3 separate regions of the Homo sapiens genome follow, and regions 1 and 3 are each linked to region 2. Evidence: promoter capture Hi-C in human tissues and cell types (Jung and others, 2019). All regions are on one chromosome and are shown on one strand. The core of a region is centred on a gene start or on the middle of the fragment in contact, and the rest is flanking DNA. Distances in the headings are between cores, read along the strand shown. Region 1 overlaps OLA1 (Obg like ATPase 1). Region 2 holds the start of SP3 (Sp3 transcription factor). Region 3 overlaps LINC01305 (long intergenic non-protein coding RNA 1305).

Evidence for each region. Contacts are between HindIII fragments. The study calls those that stand out against the background at their distance.
Region 1: a contact is called between a fragment that was not itself captured here and the fragment with the promoter of SP3 in region 2, in 1 of the 25 tissues and cell types used here (H1 embryonic stem cells).
Region 3: a fragment that was not itself captured here is called in contact with the fragment with the promoter of SP3 in region 2 in 1 of the 25 tissues and cell types used here (pancreas).

Annotation. Positions count from the first base shown.
Region 1 is chr2:174,238,204-174,241,444 of GRCh38, forward strand. The region is part of intron 2 of OLA1 (Obg like ATPase 1); the gene reads right to left. It also overlaps the pseudogene RN7SL65P. Among named protein-coding and RNA genes, the nearest start is that of OLA1, 8.7 kb to the right of the region's middle. The HindIII fragment of the contact is 7,216 bases long and covers 1-3,241 here.
Region 2 is chr2:173,963,938-173,967,384 of GRCh38, forward strand. It overlaps SP3 (Sp3 transcription factor), which reads right to left and starts at 1,436. Exons shown (of 7, transcript NM_003111.5): 1 at 1,228-1,436; 2 at 468-616. The coding sequence starts at 1,234. RefSeq lists an enhancer at 1-773 and silencers at 14-503, 834-1,113, 1,614-1,683. The HindIII fragment of the contact is 28,349 bases long and covers 1-3,447 here.
Region 3 is chr2:174,326,184-174,329,574 of GRCh38, forward strand. It overlaps LINC01305 (long intergenic non-protein coding RNA 1305), which reads left to right. Exons shown (of 3, transcript NR_038897.1): 1 at 1-1,227; 2 at 2,274-2,653; 3 at 3,102-3,391. Among named protein-coding and RNA genes, the nearest start is that of LINC01305, 1.9 kb to the left of the region's middle. RefSeq lists enhancers at 1-765, 233-352, 2,402-3,217. The HindIII fragment of the contact is 3,092 bases long and covers 162-3,253 here.

The DNA of each region.
Region 1 (3,241 bases), core at 708-3,207, 270 kb after region 2:
AACACCAATTGGCCAGCCACGGTGGCTCATACCTGTAATCCCAGCACTTTGGGAGGCGGAGGCAGGCGGATCACCTGAGGTCAGGAGTTTGAGACCAGCCTGGGTCAACATGGTGAAATCCTGGCTCTATTAAAAATACAAAAATTACCTGGTGGTGGCGCATGCCTATAATCCCTGTTACTTAGGAGGCTGAGGCAGGAGAATCACTTGAACCCAGGAGGTGGAGGCTGCAGTGAGCCAAGACTGTGCCACAGAACTCCAGCCTGGGCAACAGAGTGAGACTCTATGTCCAAAAAAAAAAAAAAAAAAAGAGAAAAAACACCAATCAAAAACTTCACAACTTGGCTATAATCAAAAAGATAACAACAAATGTTGACAAGGATGTGAAATATTGGAACCCACATACACCACCTGTGCGCACATAAAATGGTGCAGCCACTTTGGAAAACAGTTTGGCAGTCCTCAATAGTTAAATATACAGTCACATGTGACCCAGAAATTCTACTTCTAAATATATACCTAAGAGAAATAAAATCATATATCTAAATAAAAATTTATGTATCCTAAGGCTGAAGCAGACAGAGTACAAATAACATATTGTACTGAAATATAAAATATGTTGTATATAACTGAAAGATACTGTGGTGTCAGAAAGTAGAAAGCACTCAAAAAATAAAGAGGACATGTCAAAAGGAATATAAGTGAACATAAAGGCTCCTAATCACCAAATATGGGCAATTAGAGTGACAAAATAACAACAGTAATGGATTATAACCAAAAGAATAAATTAAGAATCTATACTGATATAAATAAATTATAATCAAATACATGAATAAATGGGAAACTCTTTTGTACAATAGGATTTTACACAATAGAAGTTCCATTGTTCCTTCTACAAATTGTTTCTTCTAAATGTAGAAGAAATAAGGGATATTTTTTAATCACCATTTGGCAAACACCACAATAATAACTGTTTCAGTAAGAATCAATAACACATGCCAAAATTAGGGGGCAAAAGTATGAGAAACAATATATGTACAAAATTTCAAAGGACCCCCTACAAGATGCTTATTAATTGCAATGGGAAAAATAACCCTTTCAGTGAAGAAATCTGTCAGATACCAACGAGCAATCAAAGTTAATATCACCAAAAATGGACAAATCAACATCATGTGCTTTCTAATACACTGTATTGAAAAGCATATGTCACTTATGTGCTCAAAAGTACATAACTTGAAATTAATTATGAGGAAACATCAGACAAACCCCAAATGAGAGCTGTACATAATAACTGGCCAGTACTCTTCAAAAGTGTCAAGGATATCAAACACAAAAAGAGACTGAGAATGTGTTCCAGGTTAAAGGAAACTAAGGAAACAAAACACTTAAATGCAGCTGGGCACAGTGGCTCATGCATATAATCCCAGCACTTGGAAGGACGAGGTGGGAGGATCACTTGAGGCCAGGAGTTTGAGACCAGCCTGGGCAACATAGTGAGAACCCATCTCTACAAAAAAAAAAAAAAAAAAAAAAGTTAAAAATTAGCCTGACATAATAAAATGTGCCTGCAGTCCCAGCTATTCAGGTGGCTGAGGTGGAAGCATCACTTGAGCCCAGGAATTTGAGGCTGCAGTGAGCTATGATCAGGCCAAGGTACTCCAGCCTGGATGACAGAGCGAGACTCTATCTCAAAAAAAAAACAAAAAACAATTAAATGCAACATACAATTATGGATTGAATCTTGGACCAAAAAAAGGACATTAGAGGGACAATTAGTAAATCAATGTTTATTTCCTGATTTTGATCATTGTATTATAGTTATAAAGATTTTAACACTTAGGGGATCCAAGCAGAGGTTAAATAGGAATTTTTAAAACTATTTTTGCAACTGTGAGTTTTTTTAAGCATGAAATTATTTCAAAAGAAATTTTTTTTCCATATGGGTCTTACTATATTGTCCAGGCTAGAGTGTAGTGGCTATTCAGAGATCTCACTACCCATCAGGACAGGAGTTTTGATCTGCTCTGTTTTTGACCTGGACCAGTTCACCCTCCTTAGACAACCTAGTGATCCTCCACTCCTGATAGGTCACCATATTGATGCTGAACTTAGTGCTGACACTGGATCACCACTGTGGGTGGCGTTGCAGACACCCAATCAGCATAGCACAACACAGCCCAGAACTCCTGGGCTCAAGGTATCCTCCTACCTCAACCTCCTGAGTAGCTGAGACTACATGTGGGCACCACTGAGACCAGCTCAAATTTTTTTTTAATTTAATCTTAAGTGAAAAGTCAAGCAAACTGGCAAGAGATCATTGTAATACATATCCAACAAAGAACTCATATCCAGAATAAAAAACTAATCATTAAGAAAAAAAAAGACTTTTTACATAAGATATCCAATAACATATGGAAAGATGCTCAAAATCACAAGCCATCAAGAGATATCTCTGATATCCATAGATACCTGTCTTCTCGGTAGACATGGGAATCTGACTCTTAGCTTAATTTTATCAGCTCTTTAGAATGAAAATACTCAGATCATCAGTATTTGCAGCCTAGAGAATAATTTTCCTCCTGTGAGTTCCTTTGAGCAATCAAGAATGGAGCTTCTAAAACACAAGTGAGCTAAGAATCAACTAGGCAGACTTCTAGGAACACATAGACATCACATATTTTGTATCAGGAAAATAGTGGACTGCAGTGGATTGAAGATGGCCACACATTTTTTGTCACTCCTCCCATCAAGAGGTAGAGTCTATTTCCCCTCTCCCCATGTCTCTGGGCTGGTGTCATGACTTGCCTTGACCAAAAGATTTCTGTGTAAGTTTGCTATGCCACTGCCACACCTCCATTCTCTCGAGAGCCAGACGCCAAGATATAAGGAAGCTTGGTCTAGAGACCACTTAGAAAGAGAATGAGGCCAAGTATAAGAGAAGTGCCCCAGACTTCCAGTCAATCCAGCTAAGGCCCCAGATCTGTTAAAATGGCCATCTTGGATCTTTCAGTCTCAACTAGCCACCAGCTGAATGCAGTCACATGAGGGATCCCAATGAGACTGGCAGAAGACCTTTCTAACTCACTACATTCCCGACGAACAAAAATTGTTACTATTTTAAACCATGAACTTTTGGAATGGTTTGCTACACATCAACAGATAACTATACAATGGTGATAATTCTCTTGTGATTTTTTCTTTTTTTTAGCATTTTCTACAACCTTTTCCCTCAGCAATGGTA
Region 2 (3,447 bases), core at 186-2,685:
GGGTCGGGCCGCCTTTCGCACAGGAAGTACGACTCGGTCCCCGCCGACTGCGCCCGGGCAAGCGCCAGCCCGCGCTCTCCTCCTCCTCCTCCTCCTCCTCCTGGTCCCGCCGCCAGCCCACGCCTGGCGTCCCCCGCTCCAAGCACCCCGGCTCCCCGGTCCGCGGGCAGGCGGGCGGCGGGCTGCGCGCCGGGCCTCCGCCTTCCGCCCGGAACCCACCCCCGGGAGGGCACGCTGGGGCCCACACTCACACGCGCACAAAAAGGCGGCAGGCGGGCGAGGCGGGGCGGCGCGGGCGGGGTCGGAGCGTTGGCGCCTCGGGCGGGCAGCTCCCGGGGCGGGGGGAGGGGAGTGGAGGGGAGGGGAGAGACGAGGAGGGAGGGGTGAGGCGAGGAGGGAGGGGAGAGGCGAGGGGAGGAGAAAGCGGCGCGAGGGGGGAGCCGGGCCGGGGTTCAGCCGCTCCTCACCTGGGCCGCCGCTGCCGCCGCCACCGCACCGTTTCCGTGCTGTTGCTGCTGCTGCAGATACTCGCCGTGGCCGCCGCCGCCGCCACCGCCGCCGCCGCTATCCACGTCCAAGGCAGCCATTTCCTCTTGTTTCACGGGCTTTTCGGGAGCTGCAGGCACAGCGCGGGGGGGTGGGGGTGGGGAGGAAGGCGGGTGGCGGAGAGGGAGGGGGCCCGCGGGCCGAAGCGAAATTACTCCCAAAGCCCGGACCCAGGCCCCTTCCCCTCCCCCACCCGCCCCCCGGCGGCGGCGGCGGCGGCGGCTCCCTCCTCCCCTCCTGCTGCTGCCCCCGCCCGCCGCTGCCTGTAACCCTCCTCCTCCTCCTCTTTCCCTCCTCCTCCTCCTCCCCGCGCTGCCCCTGCCCCCTCTCCTCTCCTCCCCTTTCCCTTCGCGCCGCTCGCTCTCACTCGCGCTCGCTCCTCTCGCACCGTCAGTCACTCACACACGCCCGCCCGCGCCCGCACACAGGGGGATGCGCTCCCGGCGGACCGGGCCGCCCGCCCCGGGGCCTGGCGGGGAGACGGCGTTGCTGGGGCTTCGGGGGTGGACGGTGGCTGGCGGGGAGGGGAGGGAGGCGCAGGGGAGTGCAGCTTTCTGCCTCTCACAGACACTCGGTCGCACACACGGGGCCGAGACCGGCGGCAGCGGCCCCGGGCTGGCTGTGGTCGGCGGCAGCGGCGGCGGCGGCAGCAGCAAGGGTTGCTCTCTCGGCTTTACGTACCGGTCATAGTGTGTTTAGGGCACCTCAGGCGGGGCTCCCCGCCGCCTTACACATGGTGAGGAGCGAAGGCGGCGGCGGCGGGAGAGGATGCGGGAAGCGGCGGCGGACACGGCCGGAGCGGTCCGGGGATTTTTTTTTCCTATTTTGATTGACTGTGCGGGAAACACAAAAGGTGGAGCCTCCAGCCCAAAAGGGGGGAAGAGGGTGACAGCCCGCCCGGAACTCCCGCCCCTCTTCTTGGCTCTCATTCGCCGCCGTGCTCTTTGTCGGCTGTGCTCATTGGTCCAGGCGCCTGTCCGTCGGTCTGCCAGGCGGCGCGCTTCCTGTTTGCCCCCGGGTGGAAGGGGAGAGACAATGAGCGGCCGTGGCAGCGTAGGTTTTCGAGAGCGGCTACGGCTCGCCGGTTACCCCGCTGTGCCCGCCTCCCTCGCCGGCTGCCGCTGCCAGGCCCGAGGCGCAGGCCTCCTCCACCTTGCAGGCGCTCGGAGCAGGCCTAGCCAAGCTGTAGGGGAGCTGAGCTGGGGAGGAAATTCGTCCCCGGTGACTCCTGCTCCACTGGACGCTTCCTCCATCCCGGCAGCAGTCTTGGCCGGATCTCCCCAGGGCCTCGCGCTCTTGGAGCCGCCGCTTCCCTGCGCTGCCAGGAGGCCACCGCTGCTCAGCCCCGGGGCTGCTGCTGCGGCCGCTGCCGCTACTGAGCAAACCAGACCCGCCCCACGAGCCCGGGGGGAGGGAGCTGGTATTAGGGGAGACACCCCCTCCGAGGCTGGAGGAGGATTTTTCTCTCTCACATCCAGCTTCCTGATTCAGTCACAGCCATCTCGCTCCCAGCCCCCTTAGCCCCAGTTTTCCAACCGGTCTCCCACTTTCACGTACCCTGAAGGCAGGCATTTAAAGCAAAAAAGAAATCTCAAGTCACCTCACATACGGAAGGAGAGTTTTAATTTTGGCCAGTGGCACCAAAACGGGCACTTAAAAGTATATTTCATTTTACTTGTGGTATGTGTATGTATTCAGTGGGGCAGAATTCTGTGTTTTAAAAAATCGGTCACATAACCATTTTGCTGCACAAACGTATTATTCCCGGCCTCTTTATCCTCTTGGTACCAAGTCAGATATCTCCTGAAATAAGCCCATCAACCACTGCCAACGTTTTTTAAAGTCGTGAACCGGTGAACTACCTTTTTTCCCCCATTGGAACATTTTTGTTGTATTTTAAAATCTTGTTTCTCTTACTGGATTAGGTTAACACTCCTTCCTTCTTTGGCATCCTTGGTATCTTGCTGTCATCCTGGGGGAAAATGCTCAGGTTTTAAGTGTGTGTTTTGCCAACTAAGAGACATCTCTCCCTGTTACCTTCAAGTATAGTTGCCAAGAAAGAAGTTAAATTCAAGAGGTGGAAACACTGTCCACAATACCTGTTTTTTAGAAATCTGGCTCAAGATTCAGTTTTCCCATTACTGTGATTATTATATTTTGTGTGATATGTGATGTGCTGGTGGATGAGGTTGTGAAGTCCAAGCACTTTAACCAGATTTTGTGTGTCCTAACTTAATAGGTAATCCATTTGTGAGATACTGAGTTTACATCCCAGTTCCAAAGCACTTAACCGCCTATGCTGACAGGATCAGAAACATTGTATGGTTACTTTGCTCTTAATTGTACAAAGATCAAATTTCCAGGGAATTAACCTAAAAACCACAAACATGCGGAAACGAGACTCAAAATTCTGAGTCCAAGAATAGGGTTCATCTCTTCTAATAGTCCTTGTAGTCTCATATTTAAGTGGAAAAGTCACTTTCAAAGTTGAGTCGTATAACCTATGTACTATTTTACAACAAAAACTTTTAAGGAAATAAAAGTCACAAAATAACCTGATTTGGGGTGGGGAAAATGGAAAAAGAGATGGGTGCCTTGAAGAGCGGGACAGGTGAAAATAAGTGGACTGGGAGGGAGGAAGGGAAGTCACTATTATCACTCTGTTCCTACCCGGATCTCTTGGGTGGAAGGTAGCTCTTTCCCTAGAAAGGATATTTCAGGCATTTTCAGTTTTGTTTTGTTTTTTTTTTCAGGAGTGGGGATATGTTCTACGCTATCGCCATACCCTTTTTGCAAAGTGTTAGTCCAGCCACCTTGAGAGCAAAGTACTTGGCCACAGGAGTTAAATTCGTTTCTTCATTGATACCAATTGGCAAATGATATGAGACATGAATTGTCTTT
Region 3 (3,391 bases), core at 458-2,957, 360 kb after region 2:
TAACCCTTTCCCCGCCGAGACCAAGAGGCCCTCACTCTGACACCACTCCGGGAGCCAAGCTACTGTAAGGAGCTGATACCACCCCTCGCCGGCGCGAACCGCCCATCTCCCCAGACCCGCCCACCCCCTGCTGCGAATCCCTGACGTTCTAGCCCGGCGAAGGTCCTCTTAAATTAGGAAACAATAGCTATTTAAGAAGAAGCGCAAATAACCCGCGCTCTGCGCGCCCAATCGTGGGATTCTTGGGAGTTCCCCGCGGGCAAGGAAGTCTGCTGCTCCCCGCAGCTGCGGAGGAGAGGAGGGAGCCTGCGTGCTGGGGCAGGGTGTCGCGAACTTGGGGCAACCCACCTCCAGAGCCCCGCCCCCGCTTTCCCGCCTGCCGGGGACCTGCCGAACGCGGAACCACCCTCCTTCCTGAGGCAAATTTGGGAGGGGAGAGGTCCAGAAGCTGTAGAGTCGGGGCGCCAAGCGCCAGATTCTGCCGCTCGGAAGTTGGGGGCAGTCCCCAGTCCCGCCTCAGGCCCCCGCGCTCACAGGGCGCTCCGCCGAGGGCGCGGGCCAGGCGCGCGGTGTCACCTCCACGAAGTCATTTACTTGCCCTGAAGGAGCTGGCCCTCGACCCCTTGGAGGATGGAGATTCCTCCCATTCCCTCCTCCGCCTCCCCCAGGTCGGCGAAGAGACGTGGAATTGAGCTGGACCGATGATTCCGCGAGCTCTGTAATTATGCACACACTGAAATCTTCACCGTTGACTTAAGTTACTTGGCGCTGCGAGGGCTGGGGCCCTGCATATTGATTAAATGCAGCCTCTATTTACCTAAACAATAAATGTAGAGATTAGCAACGTTCACTTGATCACAATAATGGGATTGACAATTAAGGGGCAATGCATCCCAGATGTAGCGGAACCTATGGGCTGCGTGCAGCAGGCAGAGGGCTTCTCAGAGAGGGGCGCTGGGCAGTTGCGGCGGCGGAGGTAGTGCAGAGCAGGAAGCAGCGCGGAAGCACAGCGGGAGGCGGAGGGGGACGCCCAGCCTCGTCAAGGTCTTCGGCCACCCCGCCCGGGAGGCTCGAAACTGGCTTTGGGGTACCTGAATGCCTCGACTCCCAGGGAGACATCGGGAGCTCGGAGCCACTCTCCCTGTGGCGATGGCACCTGCCTCAAGGCCGTCTCGCTTGCTGATGCCTGGCCGGGAAGGAGGATGGACGCCGCTGGCATGTGCCCTGGTAAGTGTGTCTGTTTGTCATCAGTGTACATTCTGCATGTGGCAGCAGGGCGAGGGGGAGGCGCACGTGTCTAAAGTGCACGGAGCCTTCCTCTACCCCTATGTATATACCCTTCAGTCAATGTTCCAAGAAGCGGGTCAGGGCGGAGGGTATCCATCTGGACTCTGGAAGGGCGTGGGTTTGACATCGGTAGGTGTGACAGGAAAGTCCAGCCTGTCAGAGTTGGGCTCTACAGTGGCCGAAATCAAGAAAGGATGGACGTGTCGGCCCAGGGCTGGCCTGTTTCCGGATATGTCACGGGGGTGCCTCGTTCCTCGAGGGGAGTTTTAGGATGTATCTTTTTTTCTCACCCTCTCACTGAACTGTAGGGTTCTGAGAAGAGGTTCTAGGAAGGAGAGGGCTGAAAGGAACTAAGAAAAGAACCCAGGAGAGTGGAACATGGGGTAATAAAAGACAGATGAGCACAGTTGGGTGTGTGTGTGAAACCGTGATCCACCTGGAAGGGGTTCCAAACCCTGGACTAACATCGCATACTGGCTGCAAAAGACACATGCGTGTTGCTTCTCTGCTCTTTCCCTCTTCTGTCTGAGCCCCATTATCAACCTGGAAGGCTTCTCATTCCACATTTAGACACAAACAAAAGGATTTGTCCCAGACACTCAAGAACAAGCCAGGACGAAGCCCTTTCCCGCCAAACCACGAAGGCCGGGAAATAAACAGCGCCTGCCCAGGCTCTGGGCGCGCGAGCCCAGGAGAGGACTTGGGTGGGAAGAGGATCTAGAAGATCGGAAGGAGGGAGAGAGGGAGGGAGAGAGGGAGGGAGGGAGAAGCTTGGAAAGAGAAGAGGGAGGAGGAAGAGGAGGGACCAGCAAGGCAGAGTTGGACCCGGGGTTCTGTTATAACCGCCCTTCCCCGCCCAGGGTCTTTCCATCCCCTGTCCCCCTCCCCCATTTCAGAGCTGAAGGCCGACTGTGGGAGGAGGAGGTTAAACAAAGGGAATCCTCCTCCTCTGGGACGGGTGAAGTGCGTTTGTCTTCTCCTTGCAGGCTCTGGAAAAACTGGCAGGAATTTCCTTGTCGTGAGAAGATGGACGAGTGTGTCTGCAGCCGAGGAGACAACTACAAACAGACTTTGGGCAGGGAAGGCGGGCGGGCGGGGGTGGGGGTGGGGGCGGGGGCCTGCTTTGATCGCTCCAGCTCTGTTGTAATTTTGTCTTCGCCAGATAGATTAGCTGGAACCGCCAGCCCTAGCTTGGAGTTCCGTTCCACGGAGTACCCTCCCTCCCCACCCCCAGCGTCATCTCGCGCCTGGAGCCGGGTCGCCGCTCCTTCCGAAGTCTCGCTGGAAACTTCAAGGGCTGATGGTTCTGTGTTCTTGACGTAATTAGGAGGCCACGCAGCTCTCCAACACTCCGTTAAACAAATATGTAAGTCGTCCTCCCCCTCTCTGGGGACAGACTCTAGGGAAGGAGGCAGCTGGGCCCGCTCCGGGTGGTGTCCTTGGCTAGCGGAGTGGCGTCGCTGTGACCTTCCGCCGCCCCTCGGGGCCTTGGTCTTTCTAAGCTCTTTCTTAGGAAGCGGAGAGAGGGGCAGAAAACGTGCACCTCGCCACCCACCGGACAAGCCGAGAGGACCTTGTCTTTGCTTGAAAAGTTTTCTAGATAAATCGCTCGGGTGGTTCTAAGCTATGACGAACTAGAGGCTGGGCCCGGTTCTTCTCCAGAACAGCGTGTGGATGTAAAGGAGATGAAATCGTCCTCCCCCACTGCTTTCTTTTTCTTCCCCATATAAATCAGTCATATAATTCATTCGCATTGTTTAAGGTACATTGATCAATCTAATGGCTTGTAATAGTCTCCTAATTGCCACTTGCAGACTCCTGCAGGCTCAGATTTGAAGAGGGAAGGTTCCAGCCAAGTCCACCTTAAGCCTGAGTTTGGGCGACTACAGAATCCAGGAAGAAAATCTAGATGGCATGGTCGCTCCGGTCTCAGTTCTACAGGGGAGGGAAGAAAGGGGGTGTTAGTGGGGATATTTGCTGTTCATTTTTCCCGCAATCTCCCTTCCAAATCAGTCACTGATTAATGAGCAAAGCCCATGCCACAAGTTATAGATTACTGTGGACTGAGGATCATTTTGTTAATATCAGGCAAGAAACTTGCCTT